2 separate regions of the Homo sapiens genome follow, and region 1 is linked to region 2. The links are contacts of gene promoters, found by promoter capture Hi-C in human tissues and cell types (Jung and others, 2019). All regions are on one chromosome and are shown on one strand. The core of a region is centred on a gene start or on the middle of the fragment in contact, and the rest is flanking DNA. Distances in the headings are between cores, read along the strand shown. Region 1 holds the start of LOC124906237 (a long non-coding RNA gene). Region 2 holds the start of HYAL1 (hyaluronidase 1).

Region 1 (6,851 bases), core at 2,027-4,526, 1.4 Mb after region 2:
GATAAAAATTGAACAGGGACAAAGTAGCTATTTAAGAAAGGAAGTGAACCATGTTGGGTCATATCATTTTCTTTAGATTGGATATCTATGAAGTCCACACCCCTTTGAGTTATGCTTTTTAGGCATCTATCTCATCATCTCCTGATTTAAGGATAATTCTGTCTGGTCCTTGGAGCTCTCTTCCCTAGGAATTAGTGTGTGGAGTCTCTATATGCTTGTGATCCTTGGAGCTCTCTTCCCTAGGAATTAGTGTGTGGAGTCTCTATATGCTTGTGATTCACAACTAAATATGAAATTTCTCAATTCAGGAGCAGGAAGCAAAGTGCTGGGGTACAGTTTTGCAGATTGGTTGAAACACTTAGCCAAACTTAAGTGGCCTGGGTAGGACCATCACTCCCAAAGTTGTCAGCAGAGAAGGGCCCTCTGTGTGAGTCTATTCAAACCTGGCATTGCTCTGAAATTGAGTCCTCATCCCATGGGGAAGGTCTTCTGGGGGCTTTACATTCCTTGTTACTAGTGTTCTGGATATTACCTTCTGCTTCCCACTTCCTTTTTTTTTTTTTTGAGACAGAGTCTTGCTCTGTCACCCAGGCTTGAGTGCAATGGTGTGATCTTGGCTCCGTGCAACCTCCACTCCCGGTTTCAAGCGATCCTCCTGCCTCAGCCTCCCAAGTAGCTGGGATTACAGGTGCACACCACCATGCCCAGCTAATTTGTATATTTTTTAGTAGAGACGGGGTTTCACCACGTTGGCCAGGCTGGCCTTGAACTCCTGACCTCAAGTGATCCACCCTCCTCGGCCTCCCAGTGATGGGATTACAGGCGTGAGCCACTGCTCCTGGCCCCCACTTCCTTTTGATTTCTCAGATCAGTCTTTCCCTTCTGAGCCATGGCCTTCTGTGCACCCAGCTCAGTGGCTCTTCACCCCTAAAACTAAGTGAAGTCATCCTTCCCCAAAAGGACCCCTGGGAGATGTTCTGGCCCTCTGCTGACTACTCCCAGGAATCAGCACCTCAAGGACTATTTGAGAATGTTGTGCTCTCTATTGGTCACCTTGAGACTCCGTTCCCCTGCTGCCAACTCTTCTCTTCTGCCCTGTGTATTCTGCTGTGATCCCCTTAACGGCTTTTCTGTGCTACTAGCTTAGCCCTAGGCCTTTTATGAATACCTGAGTCTTATAACAATGAACTTCTTGAGCAGGCAGTGTCCAACTTCTTTGCTCTTCAGGGACCTGAGTGTGCACCTTTCCCTTTTGCAGGTCTATTTGACATAGTAATCTAGTGTGTTGGGGAGGGGTAGCCAAGCAGGCTGCAGTGTCTGCAATGCAGAGGGCTTGGGGAGGTTTGGGTACTCTCTGCTGCCACTACTGGGATGATATTCAGAAGAGAGAGGACCTCATACTGTGACTGGACCCAGGACCCTCCCTGGAAGAGAGCTCAGCCCAGCTGTGTGTGTGTGTGTGTGTGAGTGTGTGTGTGTGTGTTTGTGTGCTGTGCTCATGTGCACCTGGGTGTAAAATGACTGTTATCTGGTTGTGTTACTCAGGGTGGGCTGGGGACTCACCAGAAGAATCCCCCCCAGCCTGCCCAAGACAGGTTTTTCCCTTGTACCATCTTCAGAGAGGTCAGGGGAAGAGGGTCCAGGTGGGTTAAGGGGGGTCGCTATGGATAACCACTAAGACCAGACTGCTGCCAGGAGGAGTGGGGGATAATGAGGTGGCCCCAGGGTCCTGGCACCTGGCTTTGGTTTTCCGTCTTCTTTCCTCAGGACGCCCCTGAGGCCTGGGACCTGTGCCTGGCTTCGAGGAGCATCTGTGGCTGGGTGATCCAGCTGCTGGTGTGATCATGGGCTTCCCTCCTCTCAGCAGGGCAGGCGCTCCTGCCCCAGAGACTGGGCAACTGGCTGTTTCTATGACGTATTTATTTTTACTTGTGTTTCATGTCACTTTTTTAAAAAAAAGCAAACAGAACAATTGTAAGTCAGTATAACTGCCTATCAGTTTTCTTTATTTCTCTTTTTGTAAAATAAAATTTAAACTCAAGAAGGCAGTGTTGTTTGATCAAGGAATTGTCTGGATAGTTGTTTGGCTGGGTGGTGGTGAAAGGAATAGATCTTAGAACATAGTGGGCTCTGGGATAGCCCTTGGGTGATGAGATAGGCAGGAACAGAAGGAAGACTGATGGCAGGCTCTTTGTTGCAGTGGGGTTCACTGGGCTTTTTCTGCTTTTGTTCACCTGAAGAAGGATGTATTACCAGGCTCCAGGGGAAACAGCAAGCTGACTTCAGAGTGGCTTGAAGCTAGCTGGTCCTCAGCCAAGGCAAGTCCTGCAGGGGCAGCCCTGACTAGACAGTGAGTGGCTGGGGATTGGGCACAATGCCTTCAGAGGGTGGGAGACAGTGTGTCTGTGAGTGGCTGGTGGCAGCGAAAACATTCTTATTGCATGTGTATTCTCTGTCATCCATGTTGGGGAATCTAGCCACTGGCCCACAGAGTTAAACAGAGCTTTGGAGTGTGAGAGGTGGGGGAAAGAAGGGACAGTCTACTCCAGCTTCCTGTTTAATTTCTTCAAGGGGAGGGGCCCTGGGGAAACAATTTTCTGGAAATTTACAAAGAAGGATAGAGAAAGAATCTCTGTAGTGATTCCTTGGACAGAGGAAGGCAAGAGGAGATGAAGGCCAAGTCTGGACTCATGATAGGGGAATCTGTGCTATTGGGAGATAAGATTGGGAGTGGAGGATGGTTGCAGCACATGGCTGGGCGAACAGGTTTCCTCAGACCTGTTACAAGGGGTTGGAATGAAGAAAGTGCCTTGTAGAGTAGGCTGCTGCCTCCTGGTGGCCAGCCGCTGCCTTGCAGGGATCCTGCCAAGGGACCTCACTTGGCACTGTTGGAAGCAGCCTGAGGTGAAGCTGGGCAGGCTGATGTCATGGCCTGCAGCCCCAGTCACCAGCGGACTCTCCTCCCACAAAAGAGGTGCTGAAGCTCCTGAGGCACATGTTGAACTCTGATGTGGGGCTCTAGAGTTCCCCAATCAGGCTAAGGGAAGTGAGCAGAGAGAACAAGATAAAGAATGGGCACTTCCTTATAATGGTTTCCTGGGAAAAGCTCACCACCTTCTGAGAAGCAGGAGAAATGACCACGCAGACCCTGCAGGCAGAGGCTGTCAGTCTCTGAGCCCGGGCCATGGCTGCTCCTTGTGTCAAAGGAAATGCTACCAAGTGTGTAGCCCGCCTGCCTGGGGCACCTAAGCTGAGGGTTTGACCATGTGCTTGATGTTCATAGGTAAAACAACTGCTGCGACCTGCACTGGCCCAGCCCGGAGTGCCTGTGAGGGGCCAGCTGCCTGTTCTGCCAGTTTGCCTAGAGGGCTGGGACAGGCTTGGCCCTGTGGATAAGGTTCAAACTCCCCTGCCTGCGGAAGGAAGAATGTGAAGCAGAGGGAAAGGAAGCTGGGATTTTGACTGTCTCTGTGTGCCCAGCCTGCTCTTTGCTGGTGCAGTAGTGGGATCCACAAGGTGAACCACCCTGTGACTGCTGACTTTTCCCACCACCACCTTCGTGGTGTTCCCATCTGCTGGATCCCCCTCCCAAACATCAGTCCTTGTCAGGATACCAAAGTAGCTCTTGGCCTCGCCGGTCTTGTAGCCAAGCTTATGAGCATAGTTGTCACCTTCCCCACCTCCCACCAAAAGTCCGGGATTTTCACGAGGGGAGCGTTTTATCTTTGGGCCCCTAGAAGAGTGCTTTGTAGTTTGTAGGTCCTCAGAAATTTGAGGTGAAGATTGAACCAATCATCAAGGAGCTTACACTTGACGTGGGAATCACGTAAGTTACCGCTAAACCACAAAGGTAGACCAGCCTCCCACAGCCACAACCTGGGCACTGAGGGAGGAGCCTGGAAGAAGGGCATTCCCATGGAACGTGAACTCCAGGAGGGCAGAACCTTGGTTTTGTTCACTCTATCCCCAGCCCCTAGAACTGTCCTGGCAAGGAGTAATAATAAGTGTTGGATGGATGAATATACTCACGGAAGTGGGAATGGGTGGGTGGAGGCAGGAAGCAGATATTTGCGCTATGCAGAAGTTGGATCCACCAGTTTCTTCCGCGAGCCCAGACTGGGCTTCAGCTTCCTCACCTATGCCTTTCTTGGTTCCCAAGTCTGTTGCGAAGCCACAGTGAGAGAAAGTGGCAGGACTAAAGGTGGTACAAATGCCAGAGGCTGATACTGCTGTGCTGCGCCTCCCTAGGCTGTACAAATTCTCCTCAGCCCCAGCTCCCTGGTCCCCAGCCTGGCCCTCTACTGCGGGCCACTGGGCTGCCTCCCGTACCCGAGCCTGGGCCAGGCTGTCACTGTGGTGCTCCTGCCAACCCAGATGCCCTGGGGTGTTGCTAAATCAACCTCAGCAACCGGATAGTTTGTTGGAGGCGGGAAGGTACGCCGTGGGTTCCGCCGCAGCCAGCGCTGGGGCTAGGCACACGCCCGTTGCCATGGAGACGGGGCGGGGCAGGCCTCCGCCCTCCGGGTCCCGCGCGCACGCGCCCACGGCCACGGCCATGTCCCGCCGCGAGAGGGGGCGGAGCGAGCGTGCGCGGCGGGCGCGCGCAGGCTCCGTAACCGAACCCTGAGCCGCCTGCGCGGATCGGCGTCCGCAGCGGGCGGCTGCTGAGGTGAGGGCCGGGCCAGAGGAGAGGCATACCCACTGGGGCGTAGGTCTGGGACTCCCCCTGTCCGCCCTGGCGCGACCTCAGGACTCTCCGTGTCCCCTCCGTGACCCCCGCGGCCCGGGCCGCTCTTTGCATCTTGTCTTGCCCACAGCTGGCCTCGGCCAGGTCCGAGGGCCTGGATGCGACCTTGGGGCAGCCCCTACTCTTCCGGGCAGCCCACTTCCGCGGCCACCGGTGCAGGGCATGCCCCGGGGCCGTGGAGGTGAGGGAAAGAGGCGCGAGTCGCGTTTTAACTCCGCCCCCGTCCCCCAAGGCCGCGCCTCGCAGCCTGGGCTGCAAACTTTAGCGTCCTTTAAGTTACAGACGTGCGTGGGGCTCCGTGAGGAGGTGGGCGAAGAGAAAGGCTCTGAGTAAATAGGCAAGGCCCGGGGTGAGCAGGGGCTGGAATCCGAAAGTGGGAGGCGGCGGCCCCCCACCCTCCATAGTCCTTCCGCCCTCTGCTAGCACCGAAGTTTAGCCCAGGACGGGGGCCGTTTAAGGGCCCGGCCCTCCGCCGCCGCGCACGTGAGCGGCACCAGGAAGCTGGCTGGGCGCAGCCTTCCCTGAGGCTCGCTGGCACCGGCCGCACGCGTCCATCCCGGGCCTCTGAGCGGAGGGGGAGCCGAGGCTAGAGGGAGGGCGCAGTCTGCCCAAGGTCAGCGGCAGCGGCAGTTTCTGGGCGCCAAGTGTGATTGGAGTACTCCAGGAAGAGGGGCGTGACCAGAGCTCTAGCGAAGAGACCTGACATTGTAAAGCTAGGTTTGGCTTCTGATTTCCACAGGGGGTTTGAGAATGGGACGAGGGTGCTTTAGAGGGACCGGTAGGCTTTCCCTGAGGACGGTAATCAGGGCATGATGGTTGGCTCAGTGGTTATTTCCTGGGCAGGGGTGACTGTTCTTTCAGCTCCCAGCACTGGAGCGCTCGGCCCCTGCCGCACTGGATGCCAGCAGTTACTAAAAGTGAGCCTGGCATTTCAGGTGAGCTCCCAGACCTTCTTCCTTTTCTCTTGAATATAGGGGAAATTCACGTTACCTCTCCACGTGCCGACCAAGGCTCTGAGACCCCCAGGTGGGTTTTCTTCCCCCCCGCCGTTTTCTGAGCAGTTTGGGAAGTGAGAGGAAGAGAAAGGTAGATACTAAGTTTCCTTGAGGAGACAGGAAGTGTTCAGCTGAGATGGCAGATCAGGGTGAGGGCTTGTCATTCCCAAGGCAAGTGGGGGCCTAGATGCTGAGAGTTTTCCAGCTTTGGGCTCAGAGATGTCCAACAAGGATTTAATGCTTCAGGCGTTTTGGAAGCCAGTCACCAGAGAGGAGAGAGAAAGTGGAAATGAGGGGCTGGAATCAGACTGTCTGGGCTTGTGTTGCCTGCATTTTGGTCCACGTGGCTCTGTTTAATACCTGTGTTACCTTGGGCAAGTCTCTTAACCTCTAACTACTTGAACCTTTAGCCTTACCTACCTCTTTGGATTGCTTTGAGGGTGAATGAAGTAGCTGTGTTTCAACATTTAGACAGTGCCTGGCGTATAGTAAGCATTCAGTGGAAGATTTCTCATCATTATCAAAGAAAATTGGAATGAAAGTTACTGGAGACAAGATGAGTAGGACAGGCAGAAAAGAGAGAGATACTGATGGGTAGAAGCACAGATGGGTGAGACTAGTGGGCAACACCTCAATTTCTTGACACCGAAAGTTTAGAAATTTACTTTGCCTCTTTGTGAGCAAATACTGTGTGCTCATTGACTCCAAAGACAATTTTTTTTTAGCGTAAAATCAACACCCAGCACCCACAGGGAAGAAATAATTCCACAGAGCTAAGTATTCCACAAAGTTGCAGCGTGGCCTTTTTAGCTTCAAAACCTTTTAAATGTTAAATATTACTTTTAAATAATTGGGGTGGGAATGTCCCCCCAGTGGGTCACATGGCTCCCTTCCTCTTTAAACAGTCTTCTCTGGGCTGTGATTTTTCCCCCCCGCCAGGCAACTCAGGTCAAGCCCTCTGTGTAAGAGGGTTAGGCCTCTGGCCCCAAGCTGCCTGGAGAACTAGGCAGCCTGCCTTGAATAGCTCACAGACTGGCCTCTGTGTTATGTTCCTGGGACTGCTCTTGAACAGCTTCTTTTCCTCTTAGGGATAATTGTTACTTCCTCCT
Region 2 (6,448 bases), core at 2,085-4,584:
TGACCTTGCCAAGTAGATGCATATGGACATGGAATGAATGGTGTCTGCTGTGGTTCTAACTCCTTATGCCACTATTCCAGTCTGTAAGTATGCATGTGTGTGCAGGGAATATGCCTGTGACAGTGGCTGAGTGTACTCTTTACTGTGACCATGACTTGTATGACTGTGCATGTATTTGAGGAAGCCCTGGCCAGACCCAGAGTGCATTAGGTTCTCAATATGTGCAACTCAGTGTGTGGCCAATCACCACATGCTCTTCCGCTCACACCACGGTGCCTGCCAGCCAGGGTAGCATCGACATTTGAACTCCACAGCCATCTGTGCCTGATCTTCAAGTGAGAGGGCACCCCGCAGGCTCAGGGGCCCACCACCAGGCGTGAGCTGGATGGAGAAACTGGCAGGGTTAAGGAGGAGGAGGGCTTTGGGGTGGCTGGTGCGGCGGACACAGCGGCCATGGCCGGAGCACAGGGCTTGACTGCAGAGAAGGGCCCCACTGGTCACGTTCAGGATGAAGGGCCCCAGTGTAGTGTCCATATACTCCTTGATGGCCTGACATGATTCCTAGGTGGGAAGGGAGGATAGCGTCAGGGACACCATGGCCATGTATGGACCCACCCAGGGCACTGAGGCACTCACCTGCTGGTCAGCCAGGACTTTGCAGGTAGAAAGGGTAAGTCAGGGTCTACCCCGTCAGCTTAATGGCCCCACCCCTCCCCCACCCCCACCCTCATGCCAGGCCTAAGCTCACCTTGGTTCTTGTATTTTCCCAGCTCACCCAGAGCACCACTCCAGCTGCCCCCTGGGCCGCACTCTCCCCCAGGCTGTGCTCCAGCTCATCCTGGGAAGGAGACAGCACAGCTCTGTGGGGCCTCCTTCCCACCATGTGGCAGACTGCTGGAACACCATTAGATGGGACAAATAATTCATAACCTTCACCTGGGGCTGCTCTGGCCATGGGACCAGAGGCAAACTGCTTCCTCCTCTAGCCTATGAATTCCATGCAGACAGGGACTACATCATTCCAATAAATGTTGAATTGCCTGTGCCTGGCACAGAACTTGGCACCAAGTGCACACTCAATGGATGTGCCCATGCGCCAGGCGCGGTGGCTCATACCTGTAATCCCAGCACTTTGGGAGGCTGAGGTGGGAGGATCACCTGAAGTCAGGAGTTCGAGACCAGCCTGGCCAACATGGTGAAACCCCATTTCTACTAAAAATACAAAAATTAGCCAGACATGTTGATGGCATGCCTGTAATCCCAACTACTTGGGAGGCTGAGGCAGGAGAATCACTTGAATCCGGAAGGTGGAGGGTGCAGGAGCTGAGATCTTGCCCCTGCACTCCAGCCTGGGTGACAGAGCAAGACTCCGTCTCAAAAAAAAAAAAAAAAAAAGGATGAATGAATGGATGAAAATGTCCCAAGGTTGGGGGCCGGGCGCGGTGGCTCACGCCTGTAATCCCAGCACTTTGGGAGGCCGAGGCGGATGGATCACGAGGTCAGGAGATTGAGACCATCCTGGCTAACACAGTGAAACCCTGACTCTACTAAAAAATACAAAAAATTAGCTGGGTGTGGTGGCGGGCGCCTGTATCCCAGCTACTCGGAGGCTGAGGCAGGAGAATGGCATGAACCCGGGAGGCAGAGCTTGCAGTGAGCCAAGATCGTGCCACTGCACTCCAGCCTGGGTGACAGAGTGAGACTCTGTCTCAAAAAAAAAAAAACGAAGAAAATGTCCCAAAGCTAAAGTACCCCAAGGCTGGACCTAATATCTGACAAGGCAGGTTGACAAGGTGGGCAGGTTACAGAAGACTCACCAGGGGCAGAAAGTGGTTTGTCGTGTCATAGAAGATCTGGACATAGGGCAGCACCGGCAGATTGGGGTCACCAGCAGCCACAGCCACACGGAATGCCTCGGCCACACGGTGTTGCACATACATCTGTGACTTCCCTGTGCCCTCCAGCACTGCGGGCATGTAGATGCTGGGATAGAGGGCACGGCTCTGGCCCCACAGCCACCCTAGCTGGTCATTTTGGGCACGGATGCCTGATGGGCACTGGCCGGTGTAGTTGGGGCTTAGAAAGTCATAGTTGTAGCAGTCAGGGAAGCCATAGAAGCCCCAGAGGCCGCGAGGACGCAGTGCCCGCCCCAGCTGGAGGGTGCCTGCCATCCAGGCCCGTGCAGCTCCCTGGAACTGGTCCTGGGCTACTGCCTCCACCTGAGGAGCTGGCCAATCAGGGTGCTGTGCCTGTACCAGTGCCCGTGAGCGCTGCCGGTAAATGTCCTTGGTGTCCCAGTTGAAGGCCCAGCGTGGGCGCCATGCCTCCCAGTCGATGACTGCCAGCCCTGAGAAGTCAGGAGCAGGTATGGCAGCCAGGATGTCCTGGAATGTGCGGGCCAGGTGGGCAATCAGGCTGGCATTCTGGGGCAGACCACCAAACACAGGCTCCCCAGTGGGCGTGTAGTAGGGGTAGGTGCCCAGCTGGGAGCTATAGAAAATTGTCATGTCAGGGCCGCGGAAGGTCTGCCCTGGGTTGGCTACCACATCGAAGACACTGACATCCACGTCCACACCGTGCCTCTCCAGGCACCACTGGGTGTTTGCATTCCAGACGGTGGTGAAGGGCCGGTTGGGTAGCAAGGGGCCCCTAAAGCCTTGGGCCATATCGAGTAAGGTCAGGAAGAGGGCGCAGATGGGAAGCAGGTGGGCTGCCATGGCACGGGACTGGTCGAGGACAACCTGGCCAGGGGAGGCAGAGCTGAGAACAGGTTGCAAAGTCTCCGATTCCCCCACTGCTCAGGGCTGGGGGGCTGAGCCCTTGCGCATTAATCCACCGCTGCTCTGGTTTCTGTTAAACATTGACCTGCAGGGCTCCAGGAGGGCAGGGGAGACGCATGGAGGGGAGCATGGCCACTGGAGGGCACATCCGAGTTGCCTCTCAGACCAGGCCTCTGCCATCTCCCACAGGACTTGCTCTAGCCTAAGCTCGCCCACCCCTGCTTCCCCATGAGCCACTGAGGCCATGACATATGTTCTGGGAAGAGTGGCTGACAGCCAGGCCCTCAGCCCCCAGGCTGACCCGACCAAGGGGGGGAGGCCTTCCTGTCTCTTCCACCAGAAATCCTGGCAGCCACTGGAGGAAGATCCAATGGCCTCAGTGACCAAGGACAGGTCAACCCAGCCCTCCTGTACACCCGCCAGTCTGCCCGCTCGTCCCTGCTGACCTTGGGGCTGAAGGGCCTTATCCTCCAAATTTCCTGACCCCAGGATGGGGGCCTAAGCAGGGCCTGGCCAGATTCCACCCCAGCTGCACCAGAGACTCCTGGAGGAAGGAGCCGCTGCTGGAAATTCTGAGCTTTTGTAGGGGGTCACCCCACCCAGGCCAGGGGCGGGCCAAGGGGCGGGCCTTGGATTAGGAGGCCAGGCCAGCCAGGCATCAGGGCTACCTCTGAATCCCTGGCAAAGGGATCTTGGTTGGGGGTGGGGCTGGGCCAACAGTGGCCCCTCCCACGCTGTCAGCACTAGGGCAGGGCTTTGTGGCCTTACCTAGGCTGGAGGAGGTGGGCAGGGGCAGACCCTGCTGGGCAGGCCTGTTTGTGACACTGGAGACCGGGTTCTTTCGTGTCTTGTGCTCAGGGAGTGTTCTTTGTCCACGTGGCTGCATCTGACATTGATGGGCCCTAGGCACTTTACTTTCGTGGATCTTTTCCTCCTTAAAAAAAATATTTTAAAATATGGCCAGGCATGCCAGGTGCGGAGGCTCACGCCTATAATCCTAGCACTTTGGGAAGCCGAGGTGGCAGATCACGAGGTCAGGAGATCGAGACCATCCCGGCTAACATGGTGAAACCCCTTCTCTACTAAAAATACAAAAAATTAGCCGGGCGTGGTGGCAGGCGCCTGTAATCCCAGCTACTCGGGAGGCTGAGGCAGGACAATCCCTTGAACCCGGGAGGCAGAGGTTGCAGTGAGCCAAGACTGCTCCACTGTGCTACTATACTCCAGCCTGGGTGACAGAGAGCGACTCCATCTCAAAAAAAAAAAAAAAAAAAAAAATATATATATATATATATATATATATATATATATATATATATGGCTATAGTCTTAGCACTTTGGGAGGCTGAGGTGGGAGAATTGCTTGAGCCCAGGAGTTCGAGACCAGCCTAGGCAATGTAGCAAGACCCCATCTCTACAAAAAAATTAAAAATTAGCTGGGCATGGTGGTATGTACCTGTAGTCCCAGCTACTTGGGACACTGAGGCAGGAGGAGTGCTTGAGCCCAGGAGGTCATGTCTGGGTTACACTATTATATATTAATTATTAATATATTTACATTTATATTCTTCTTCTGATTAAAAAAACATTTTGTGGGCCCCTGAAAGTACTGTGGCCCTAGGCCTTGGGTCTATTGTGCTTAGTGGATAAGTCATCCCTGTTGTAGGGACCTGTTTCTGAAAGGCACTGTGTTCATGAAGTCAGGGCTGTGTCATCACCCTTTGTATATGTGCTGGGTTAGTGACTGTGTCTTTGTGAAGCCCCATTTAGTGACCATCTGAGCCTCTGCACAAATTCCAGTGGCAAGTAGGTGTGAGTGTGGAACCCAGTGCCTGGGACTGGGTGTGTGTGAGCCCTGCTGTCTTGTGAGCATGAGATCCTGTGTTTGTGTGACCATGCATATGAGCTGTCAGTGAGCACATGCTTGTTCATTCATTTGTGGTTTCACTTGTTCAATATGTGAAAGGAAAATATCTTGGGCCCCTTCAAGCTGGGAACCGCTCAGGACAAATCTGCCTCCCATTCTATTCAAGTCATCCTTTTGCTTACAGACATAGATGCATATTATGATTGCCTCCATTGCCTCTTTTGGAAAGACTACCAGAAACTCAAAAGAATGCAACCATCTGTCTGTCACCTGCCTGTGACCTGGAAGCCCCCAGTGGGGGGCCGTGCTTTGAGCTGTCTCCACCTCTCTGGACAGAGCTTATGTACTTCTGTTTTTTTTTTATTTTTATTTTTTGAGACGGAGTCTCGCTCTGTCGCCCAGGCTGGAGTGCAGTGGTGCGATCTCAGCTCACTGCAAGCTCTGCCCCCCGGGTTCATGCCATTCTCCTGCCTCAGCCTCCCGAGTAGCTGGGACTACAGGCGCCCGCCACCACGCCTGGCTAATTTTTTGTATTTTTAGTAGAGACGAGGTTTCACCGTGTTAGCCAGGATGGTCTCGATCTCCTGACCTTGTGATCTGCCTGCCTCAGCTTCCCAAAGTGCTGGGATTACAGGTGTGAGCCACCGCGCCTGGCCTAATTTTTTTTTAGATGAAGTCTCACTCTGTCGCCCAGGCTGGAGTGCAATGGCATGATCTCGGCTCACTGCAACCTCTGGCTCCCGGGTTCAAGCGATTCTCCTGCCTCAGCCTCCAGAGTAGCTGGGACTACAGGCGCGTGCCACCACACCCAGCTAATTTTTATATGTTTAGTAGAGACAGGGTTTCACCATATTGGCCAGGCTGGTCTTGAACTCCTGACCTTGTGATCTGCCCACCTTGGCCTCCCAAAGTGCTGGGATTACAGGCTTGAGCCACCACGCTTGGCTAAGGTACTTCTTACGTATTGATAGATGTCTCATATCTCCCTAAAATGTATAAAACCAAGCTGTGCCCGGAACACCTTGGGCACATGTCATCAGGACTTCCTGAGGCTGTGTCTTGGATGCATCTTCAACCTCAGCAAAATAAACTTTTTAAATTAACTGAGAGCTGTCTCAGATTTTCTGGGTTCACATTTGGTAACTATGGATGGATTCTGTGTGGAGATGTCCTTGACTTTTGACTAATTGCCTATCTGTGCTTGGTACCAGCAGGAGCTAACTTTATGGCTCAAACCAATAGGACAATTTGCTGAGGTCTGGGAGCACCCCCTCCAGAGAATCCTTGATTTCTCAATTGGTTGAGATCTAAAGTTTATTTTGCTGTACAACTCTTTTTTTTTTTTTTTTTTTTTTTGGAGTTTTACTTGCTCCCAAAAGGAAAGCAAGTTTTTCTGCTTCCATGACGATGGAAGGCAGGTAACTCCTTTATGGAGTTTGAGCTCGCTTCCAACAGGGAAAATTAGTTTTTTTTTCCTGCTTCTGGGATGGTAGAGAGCAGTCTACAGCCTGAGACCCATCACTAGGTAAGAAACTGGCTTGGGATTCTGCCTTGCAATTTCCTTTAAATGACTAAAGTTAGCATTTAACAACCAGCTGGTGTTAACTTCTGCTTACACTTACAGCACTCAGAAATCATATACTTTGTGTGATCATTGTTACTTTAGCAGCATTTTGTTCTAGCTGAAATATGGTAATAAGATTAAAAAAATTTTTTTTGGCTGGGAGTGGTGGCTCACACCCGTAATCCCAACACTTTGGGAGGCCGAGGTGGGCGGGTCACCTGAGGTCGGGAGTTTGAG

Evidence for each region. The method cuts DNA at HindIII sites, captures the fragments that hold promoters and counts their contacts. A contact is called where the count stands out against the background at its distance.
Region 1: a fragment that was not itself captured here is called in contact with the fragment with the promoter of HYAL1 in region 2 in 1 of the 25 tissues and cell types used here (dorsolateral prefrontal cortex).

The regions. Positions count from the first base shown.
Region 1 is chr3:51,666,620-51,673,470 of GRCh38, forward strand. It overlaps RAD54L2 (RAD54 like 2), which reads left to right. Exons shown (of 23, transcript NM_015106.4): 23 at 1-2,041. It overlaps LOC124906237 (a long non-coding RNA gene), which reads right to left and starts at 4,486. Exons shown (of 2, transcript XR_007095907.1): 1 at 4,030-4,486; 2 at 1,998-3,037. It overlaps TEX264 (testis expressed 264, ER-phagy receptor), which reads left to right and starts at 4,633. Exons shown (of 5, transcript NM_015926.6): 1 at 4,633-4,669. RefSeq lists a silencer at 4,369-4,798. The HindIII fragment of the contact is 4,028 bases long and covers 1,263-5,290 here.
Region 2 is chr3:50,300,240-50,306,687 of GRCh38, forward strand. HYAL1 (hyaluronidase 1) reads right to left here and starts at 3,335. Exons shown (of 4, transcript NM_033159.4): 1 at 3,227-3,335; 2 at 1,818-2,741; 3 at 749-838; 4 at 1-561. The coding sequence starts at 2,717. The coding sequence ends at 244. RefSeq lists enhancers at 2,819-3,753, 3,571-3,740. The HindIII fragment of the contact is 11,854 bases long and covers 1,522-6,448 here.